2 separate regions of the Homo sapiens genome follow, and region 1 is linked to region 2. Evidence: promoter capture Hi-C in human tissues and cell types (Jung and others, 2019). All regions are on one chromosome and are shown on one strand. The core of a region is centred on a gene start or on the middle of the fragment in contact, and the rest is flanking DNA. Distances in the headings are between cores, read along the strand shown. Region 1 overlaps TSPAN15 (tetraspanin 15). Region 2 holds the start of SRGN (serglycin).

Region 1 (4,625 bases), core at 1,697-4,196, 400 kb before region 2:
AGCAGCTGTCAACTCACCAGCCCATGGCCCTTCGCGGACCTGGCACTGGCCCCCGGGGCAGAAGTTGGGTGGGAGCATTGCCTTCCAGCCGAGCAGCCTGGGCAGAACAAGGACTCTCTTGGCCCCAGGCCCACCTCCCAGAGGCCCCCAGGTCACAAAGCTTTTCCATCCTTGGGTGCCTGCTCCTCTGGGTGATGAAGGGACAGGCCAGCTGGCTGGGGTGTGGTTGGGGGTGCCTAAAAAACAGGATACCAGGGTGGGGCCAGTCTGCCACCCAGGGTGGGGCAGGGGAATGAGCTTACAGCACTGAACGACATGATTGGCTGAGCTACGTACTCATGGGGTGCCGCCAGGGTCAGGGCCTTGCCTAAGGCCACACGTGGGGAGGTTCCTCCCGGGTGGCTTCCCCCTACTCTCAAGGCACCACAGACACAGTCCTGGCCCACCATGTCCCTCTGCACCTACCCGGGCCCACTGGCCCACTTACAGCACCCCCACTGGCCACTGTGCTGTTTGGACTCTCCCAGGGCTGCCAACAGGGTGGGATGAAGGTGGGAAGCCCAGGGCAGGAAGGAGGGGAAGTGGCAGAGTAGAGGCTGCTCTGTGGCTGTGGGGAAAGGCTCTGCCTCTCTGGTGAGCAGCCCCAGCCTGCCTCCCCAAACCATCCCGCCTCCCCAAACCATCCCGCCTCCTGGGCACTTTCCAAGGCTCGGGCTTCGAGAGGGGCCTGGAAAAATTCGGCCTTTCATCTGGTAAGCTGAGCCCTGTTGTTGGGGGAAGGGGGGCCCTGCAGGAGCAACAGATGTCCCTGGGCTTCATGGACAGCAGCTGCCCCCAACCCCCATCAGGGAGCTCTTTGAGGCATGCTGGTTCTTGCAAGTGTGCACCACTTGTATGTGTGTGCACGTGTGTATGTGTACCGGGGAGACGAGGACACTGAGATGGTTCCTGTGCTGTGAGGGGCGATGGTTGGGGGTGGGTGTGTGTGAGAAGATCCCGTGAGGCAAGCTGGCTGTGCAGTTTAACTGTAAAGTGCTATGCCGCCGTTGACAGCACTGGTAATGTTCCGAGAGACCAGGGGAGCCACTCAGAGGACAGGGAAGAGAGAATTCTAGCTTCCTCTGCCATTCCCAGATGCCCAACATACCCAGTGCCACTGCCCCCACCCCATTCCCCTCCAAACCAGGCCATGCCAGCAGGGGCAGCTCCAGTGAGGACTAGAAAACCAGGCTAAATTAAGCAAAGAGTAAGCAAACATCAAAAGCCACAAGGTTTGAAAGCATGTTGTTTAAAGCACCAGAGAAAGCTATGAAGAACTATCCTTTCTAGCTTTGCCTTTTAAATCTAGTTTTTATCTGAAGCCTCCACATCACCCCTCTCTCAGGGTTTTTAAATGAATGAGGAACTGAAGGGGGTGAGGCATGTGGCGGCAGCTCCTCCAACACAGAGGACAGAGGGGTAGGAAAAGGAGTGGAAGGGGCGGCCGCTAAAGCTTCCTACCAGGCCAGCTGCCTGCACAGGACCAAGAACCTCTCTGGGGAAGGAGTGGCCCGGGGCTCCCTCAGGCTGCCTCTGGCTAACACCACTTCCATGTAAGCCTGAGACCTGAGGCTGGGAAGGCCCTGCTGCTGGCCTAGTGCAGGCCTAGCTCTCAAACTTGGAGGAGAAGCTGGTCATGGTGGTCCCTGCCTATAATCCCAGTACTTTGGGATGCCAAGGCAGGAGGATTACTTGAGTCCAGGAGTTCGAGACCAACCTGGGCAACATGGCTTGACCTCATCTACACACAAACACACACAATTATCCAGGCATGGTGGCATGCACCTGTAGTCCCAACTACTCAGGAGGCTAAGGTGGGAGGATCGCTTGAGCCTAGGAGCTGAGGCTGCAATGAGCTGTGATTGCACCACTGCACTCCGGCCTGGGTGACAGAGCAAGACTGTCTCAAAAACAAAACAAAAACTTGGAGGAGAGGTGCTTGGCCCAGGATTTTCCTCCTTCATTTGCGCCTGGAGCCAAGCCATCATCTCAGCCTTTCCCAGTCCCTCTAGAACGGGGACTTACCCTCATTGCCCCCGGACCCTAGCCTCTGCTCCAGTCCCAATAGAAGCCCAATGTGACAATCAGGAATGGAAGAGAACCCAGGGGACCAGGAGAAGGTGGGAAGGGGCGTGTGGAGTGAGCATCTGCCAGACCCTTCCTCAGACCTGGCCAGGGTCACAGGTTCATCTCCATGGTGGGAGAGGGTTATGTTTCAGTGTCCTTGGGACTGGGGGCTCCAGCCTCACTCCCTGACAGCTTTCCACAGTGGGGCACACCCGTGGGGGAGTCTGGCCAAACCAGCGAGAAGCACTCTCTACTTCTGTAAGGCCGACCGCTCTGCTGTAAGTGGGAAGGATACACAGCCGGCCCTCCACATCCACGGGTTCCGTACCCGCAGATTCAAACAACAGTGGATGGAAAATATTTGGGAAAAGGAACAATAAAAAATAACACAACAGTAAAAAATGATACAAACTAAAGAACAATACAGCATAAACAACTATCTACACAGCATTTACAATGTATTAGGTATCTGGGTTTTTTGTTTTGTTTTGTTTTGTTTGAGACAGAATCTTGCTCTGTCACCCAGGCTGGATGGAGTGCAGTAGCACGATCATGGCTCACTGCAGCCTCTGCCTCCTGGGTTGAAGCAATTCTCCTGCCTCAGCCTCCCTAGTAGCTGGGATTACAGATGCCCACTACCACGCCTAGCTACTTTTTGTATTTTTACTAGAGACAGGATTTCACTGTGTTGGCCAGGCTGTTCTCAAACTCCTGACCTCAAATGATCCACCTGCCTTGGCCTCCCAAAGTGCTGGGATTACAAGCATGAGCCACCGCACCTGGCCCTGTATTAGGTATTTGCAAGTAATCTAGGAGTGTTGCAATTTACAGGAGGATGTGTGTAGGTTATATTCAAGTACTACACCATTTTATATAAAGGACTTGAGCATGTGTGGATTTGGGTATCCTTTGGTCAGGGGCATGTTCTGGAACCAATCCCCGTCGGACACCAAGGGAAAACTTTATATATTCAGGTGTTGGCCGAGAGAGCCATGGTGCTGCCTACTTTCTCCTGCCTCTGACCTCAAGGTTGTGCCCAGAGCCAGCTTGTGCCAGTGCCATGATAAAATAGGCAGGCTGGTGCTCCCCACTGTTCCCTGACCACAGTGTCAGGTAGGACCACAATGCCCACTGATCCTACCCTGGTGGTAGAGAGAGGAGGCCTGGGATGGGGGTATAGACACACCCGCTACTGCCCGGACCCTCCAGGTGTCCAAGCTCAGCTGCACCTGGCTGGAAGCATGAGGAGCTGCCCACCTCTGACACCTGACACCCTCACAAGAAGCCCCAGAACAAGCTGGGACAAAAGCAGGTGTCAAGAGGGTTGAGACCCACACAACTGGGGAAGTCACTCAGGTCCTCCTCCAGCCCCTGGCTGGGGTCAGGGGTGTCGTACTTCTCCTGCTCCTAAGGGCTGCTCTGTGCCCAGCTCCCCAGTGCATGGCCACTTGCCCCTCTATGAGTGGAGAAGCGGCACCAGTCCGACTGTCAGGCCATGCCTAGCAGCAGAAATCTTGCCTGGGGTCAGAGCCAGGGGGAGTTTCCTCCTTATATCCAGGAGTCTGTTTAGCTTTCAATGCCTGGCTGTGGCCGTGGTCTGTGCACCTCGCTGAGAACCCAACATGTAATCCTTAGCCTAATTGTTGCGGGAAGTCAGGGACCCCAAATGGAGGGACCAGCTGCAGCCACAGCAGAGGAACATAAATTGTGACGATTTCATGGACATTTACCAGTTCCCAAATAATACTTCATAATTTCTTACACCTGTCTTACTTTAATCTCTTAATCCTGTTATCTTCGTAAGCTGGGGATGTATGTCACCTTACGGCCACTACGATAATTGTGTTAACTGTACAAGTTGATTTTAAAACATGTGTGTTTGAACAATATGAAATCAGTGCACCTTGAAAAAGAACAGAATAACAGCGATTTTCAGGGAACAAGGGAAGACAACCATAAGGTCTGACTGCCTGCGGGGTTGGGCAAAAAGAGCCATATTTTTCTTCTTGCAGACAGCCTATAAACGGACATGCAAGTAGGGAAGATATCGCTAAATTCTTTTCCTAGCAAGGAATATTGATATTAACACTCTGGGAAAAGAACTGCATTCCTAGGGGGAGGTCTATAAACGGCCGCTCTGGGAGTGTCTCTCTTATGCAGTTGAGATAAGGACTGAAATACACCCTGGTCTCCTGCAGTACCCTCAGGATTGGGAAACTCCACCCTGGTAAATTTGAGTTCAGACTGGTTCTCTGCTCTCGAACCCTGTTTTCTGTTGTTTAAGATGTTTATCAAGACAATATGTGCACCACTGAAGGTAGACCCTTATCAGTAATTCTGCTTTTGCCCTTTGCCTTGTGATCTTTGCTTTTGCCCTTTGCCTTGTGATCTTTGTTGGACCCTTATGAGGAGTTTCTGATTTTTCCCTTAGAAGCATGTGATCTTTGTTTTCCTTTTTGCCCTTTGAAGCATGTGATCTTTGTGACCTACTCCCTGTTCTTGCACCCCCTCCCCTTTTG
Region 2 (5,245 bases), core at 1,549-4,048:
AATAAAAGTGGAAGATTCACAGGCCTCATCAAATCCCCTGGAGCCCTACATTAAATAGATTAGTCATCTGTGCTCTCCAGAGTTACACATCCCCAAATTTCCATTTCTTTGTGCTTGGTAAACACAATCTTACCCCACATCTTTACTTGGGTTTGACTTATAATAAAAATATACCACCACCAAATTCATATGTTCCAGTTCTAACCCACAGAATCTCACAATGTGAAATTGTTCAGAAATAGGGTCATTGCAGATATAGGTAGTTAAGATGAGGCCATTAGGGTGGCCCTGATCCAATGCCTGGTGACCCTCTAAGAAGATGGTATTAAGACACGGATGCATGGAGGAAAGGCCATGTGCAGACAAGGGAGAAGGCGCCATCTATAAGCCAAGGAGAGAGGCCTCAGAATGCGATCGACCCTGCCAGCACCTTGATCTTGGACTCCCATCTCCAGAACTGTGAGGAAATACATTTCTGTTATTTAAGCCACTCAGTCCGTGGTACTTTGTTATGGCAACCCGAGCAAACCACTATAGTGACCTGAAATGGTTTTGAATATGCTCAGTAAAAGCAAGCCAAAAGCCTAGTTGATTTCATCTGCCAAACCAACGGGCTAGATAAACACTTTTTATAAGACAGGAAGAATGTTGTCGAATCATATCTGGCATTGCGTGGAGGTGTGAGGAAATGGTGTCACGACTCTTCACATCACAGCCTTGTGCCGCAGTCACTCACATGTGCAGCCAGTGGGGGACATCTATTTCCCTGCATGCTCAGATGTGGGCACAAGCCCTTGAGCCCGATACTGAGAGCCTTTTTTCGGAAACACCCTAGTTTGTCAGTTTCTCCCTTGTCTCTTTCTATGGTTTCCTTTTCTAACAAAGAGCTAAACCTACGAGGTCATGACATAAATGCTAGTATTCTATACAATTTCATGATGAATTATTTTCTTTCCTTCTCTTTCTTTCTTTCCTTTCTTTCTCTCTCTCTCTCTTTCTTTCTTTCTGACAGAGTCTTGCACTGTCACCTAGGCTGTAGTACAGTGGTGCAATCTCAGCTCACTGCAACCTCCACCTCCCAGGTTCAAGCAATTCTCCTGCCTCAGCCTCCTGAGTAGCTGGGATGACAGGTGTGTGCCACCATGCCCGGCTAATTTTTTTGTATTTTTGGTAGAGACGGGATTTCACTATGTTGGCCAGGCTGGTCTCAAACTCCTGACCTCATGATCTGCCTACCTTGGCCTCTCAAAGTGCTGGGATTACAGGCGTGAGCCACCATGCCCGGCCTTCTTCATTTCTTTCTAATGAATATTATACAAGGAACGTTTTTGTTTTCATTCTAGTTTTCCTTAATGAATCTTAGTGGGAAATTCATGTTTCTGGGAAATTTTGACAACATAAAGACTTACATATCTCTGGTTGGGGTATGCCCAGCACCATCTGGCCATTCAAGACTGTACTAAAGTATGGGCCTCATTACTCTCGATCTTGTCAGACCACTTGGCTATTCGGGAATTATTTCATCAAGCTGAAGATATTCCCTAAAAGATCCCAGTGAAGCCTGTTCCCTACAATTGACAATGTTTTATATTTTAAAAATACATAAATTAATAACGTTCCAGAAACATTACTTGCTCTTTTTTCAGCATTAGCATAACTAGAAGAAAATGATTTTATAAATTTCCAACATAAAATGAATGTCTCTGCGATCATCTGTAAGATTTCATCTCCACCGGAAGTAAGATCATGACAACCAAAAGTCGCTTTGACGAAACAAATCTAGGACATGTGTGTCATTGTGACTCAACATTTCCCTTACCATTTGGCGGAACCTAGTGTTTTTCTACTATAGGTTCAGCCATCTCTCTATCAAGCCATGACCTCCGTCTTATTTAGACATGATTCCTTATTTGCCAAAGAATAACAAATTGTATTTTTCTTACAAGCCTATCATTTTCATTGTCTTAGTCATTACAGGTTTTAAGTTGTTTCAGTCTGACTAAACAACACTAAATGGTAGATAAACCTAGGAAGATATTTCCGAATATGATGCTTCTCTGAGCAAGAGCACAAATACCAAATTATTTGGCCTTCTCTTTAAAATCTGAGAGGTTTTACATGAACTATGTCTAACCATAATTGAGTTTTCAGTAAGAACCAAGTTTATCTTTAAAAAAAAAAAAAAGAAAAGAAAATACACACAGTCAGATTCACCCCAATTGGAATATAACGTCTCCCAGTGTTAAAATAACAATGACACCGTCACAGCGCACTAAAACTTGGGGCTGATGTAGACACTTAGGGGTAGGCAGACACCCCCCAACAGTCAAAGGTGCCATCTCCTCCATGCAACAGGCACAGGAGTCATTTTCTAGATTCCTTTTTTGAGCTTTTAAAATTTATAAACCTCACATTTTCATCCCAAAATAGCACATTTCAATCATTGTAAGAGTTTACAAGACTGCACACGCCACAGAGTTTAATTTTTCTTGGTACCAAACTTAACAGAACTCATATTAAAGGGTTCAGCGACCCCAAATCCTTCTTCTTTGCCTCCTTTCTCACAATATTATACATTCTATGCCTTAAAATGAATATAATGACTTGCATGGACCACAGGGCTTACAGAGAAGATGGCTGGGGAACAAGACTCCTGAGTCTTACCTTGAACTGAGGATTCCAGAACCAGGATGAGGGCAAGAGCCAGGACAAGCCGACTGCATTTGAGTAGCTTCTGCATCATGACCAACTTAGTCTAGCTCTCCCAGCTGCACGCCAACTTCTTGATTAGGAAATGTAGCAGGGTGCTCTCTGTCCCTTTTAGAAAATGTTCCAAAACCTCAAACCCTGCCCAGAACACACGTCACAATTTCCTGAACAAATAGAAAGACATCCACATCAAAACCCAGAAAGAAAGGGGGTGGGGGGAACACAGTAAAATAACTATTCATACCCATTATGAAACTGTACTGGACTCCCCCCAGGCCTGCTTTTTCAAAAGTTTTGTTGTTTGCCACTTGCCTGCAAGACATTTTTTTTTCCCACCGAAACAGTAGAATCAGCATTTGGGACAGTTTGTTTTTCCTTTCTTCAGGTAACAATCTAAACACTAGATTGCTAATATTAAGAATCTGCTGCATTTTTTATGAGATAAGGGATCTAGGTGCTGCCTTTTCGTCACCAAGCACTTTCAACATAAAACATTCTCTTCATTTTCTTTTTCACCGGGGAGTAACATACCTCACTGAGCCAAGCTCGTGAAGTGAAACTTCAAAGCTGAGCTCTAACCTTCAAGAATGAGTTGTCGGATTTCAGATGAACAGTTTCTTCTTCTTCTTTTTCTTCTTTTTTTTTTTTTTTTTTTTTTTTTTGAGATGGAGTCTCACTCTGTCACCCAGGCTGGAGAGCAGTGGCGCGATCTCAGCTCACTGCAACCTCCATCTCCAGGGTTCAAGCAATTCTCCTGCCTCAGCCTCCTGAGTAGCTGGGATTACAGGCGTACACCACTGCGCTGGACTAATTTTGTATTTTTAGTAGAGACGACGTGTCACCATGTTGGCCAGGCTGGCCTCAAACTCCCAACCTCAGGCCATCCGCCTGCCTCAGCCTCCCAAAGTGCTGGGATTACAGGCGTGAGCCACCGTGCCCAGCAAACAGTTTCTTCTTAAACTCAGTTTCTTGCATTGGATCATTGGCTCTCTCTCTATCTCAAGAACATAGGATTTTCAGTTACAAAGACTGTGGTAAAACAGAAAAACTATTTTGCATTCCCCTCTCCTTCACATTGAGCATTTCTTAAGATGGATTCCATTTCTATTTTTATCTGTTCTCCTAGTCAAAATTTTCAACTCGAGTTTTGGGTCCTCTGGCCTTGAATAAGCCAGAAATCAGGAACGAGGGAGAGGTTGTCCTCACAGTGAGCTGCTGGACCTCAGCAAACAACACAAACCTCTGCCTCATGTAAATAAAGGAACAGCATTTTCCCTGGGCATGGTGCAGATTTCTGGAGGACTAAGGCTCCATATTAAAGTTATACAATAAAGGCCAGGTGCTGTGGTCCACACCTGTAATCCCAGCACTTTGGGAGGCTGAGGTGGGTGGATCACAAGGTCAGGAGATCGAGACCATCCTGGCTAACACCGTGAAACCCCGTCTCCACTAAAAATACAAAAAATTAGCCGGGCGTGGTGGCGAGTGCCTGTAGTCCCAGCTACTCGGGAGGCTGGGGTAGGAGAATCGCTTGAACCCGGGAGGCAGAGGTTGCAGTGAGCCAAGATCGTGCCATTGCACTCCAGCCTGGGTGACAGAGAGAGACTCTATTTCAAAAAACTAAAAATAATAAAATAAAATAAAATAAAGTTATACAATAAATACAAGCCTATCATACATCCTTGCCCTTGTGGCATATACATTTTCCTTACTTCCTTTCAAGATTCAACCACTCTCCATTTCAACATGTCTATCCCTACCGCTCCCCCAGACGGCTTAATGCACGTGCCCCACTTTCCATTCTCATCCTCGCCCTTGCCTGGCCTTTGATAGGAGGGAGGAGTTTCCCTTCCCTTGTTTTAGGCTTCCTGCTGATTCCTTTACCATTTCCTGCTAAGGACAGAGTCTCACAGTCTAATAGCCGTGGTGCAAGAACACAAAGAGTGTACATTTTGGCCCTCCTCAGAAGCCCCTCACATCAGCCAGAAGTGTGTCCTCCAACTCAGGGGCGTCTCCAAGCACAGTAACCAACCCCAAAATGCACTGGCCCGGAAAGTTTTCCACTGAGAAATGTCGGTTTCTGTTTGAAATATCAGATGTCATCTTTGGTCCTTTTAAATCTAACTCCCAATTGAAAACCCTGGCACCAAAACAATAGTTCCTATCAATAGCTTCGATGAGTTTCCTGCAAATCCCCAGAGCTGATTAGGGCTGTGTTTTAAAATGGTAATTTTAGGGGCTTTTTCCATTTGGGAACTTCATTTTTTTTCTTTCTTTCTCTGGGTCATGGTGTTGTTGTTGTTTTTTACCTCTCTCTCTCTGTCGCCCAGGGTGTACCTCCACCTCCTGGGTTCAAGCAAACGCATTTGACTAATTTTTTTTCTTTCTTTCTTTTCTTTTCTTTTCTTTTCTTTTTTTTAGTACAGATGGGGTTTTTGTCATGTTGGCCAAGCTGCCCTCGAACTCCTGACCTCAAGTGATCCACCTGTCTCGGCCTCCCAAAGTGCTGGGATTACAGACGTAAGCCACAACGCCC

What was found. The method cuts DNA at HindIII sites, captures the fragments that hold promoters and counts their contacts. A contact is called where the count stands out against the background at its distance.
Region 1: a fragment that was not itself captured here is called in contact with the fragment with the promoter of SRGN in region 2 in 1 of the 25 tissues and cell types used here (liver).

Annotation. Positions count from the first base shown.
Region 1 is chr10:69,488,705-69,493,329 of GRCh38, reverse strand. The region is part of intron 3 of TSPAN15 (tetraspanin 15); the gene reads right to left. Among named protein-coding and RNA genes, the nearest start is that of TSPAN15, 40 kb to the right of the region's middle. RefSeq lists a silencer at 4,171-4,371. The HindIII fragment of the contact is 4,239 bases long and covers 827-4,625 here.
Region 2 is chr10:69,085,656-69,090,900 of GRCh38, reverse strand. SRGN (serglycin) reads right to left here and starts at 2,798. Exons shown (of 3, transcript NM_002727.4): 1 at 2,665-2,798. The coding sequence starts at 2,743. RefSeq lists a silencer at 590-769 and enhancers at 1,468-2,667, 4,315-4,484. The HindIII fragment of the contact is 28,080 bases long and covers 1-5,245 here.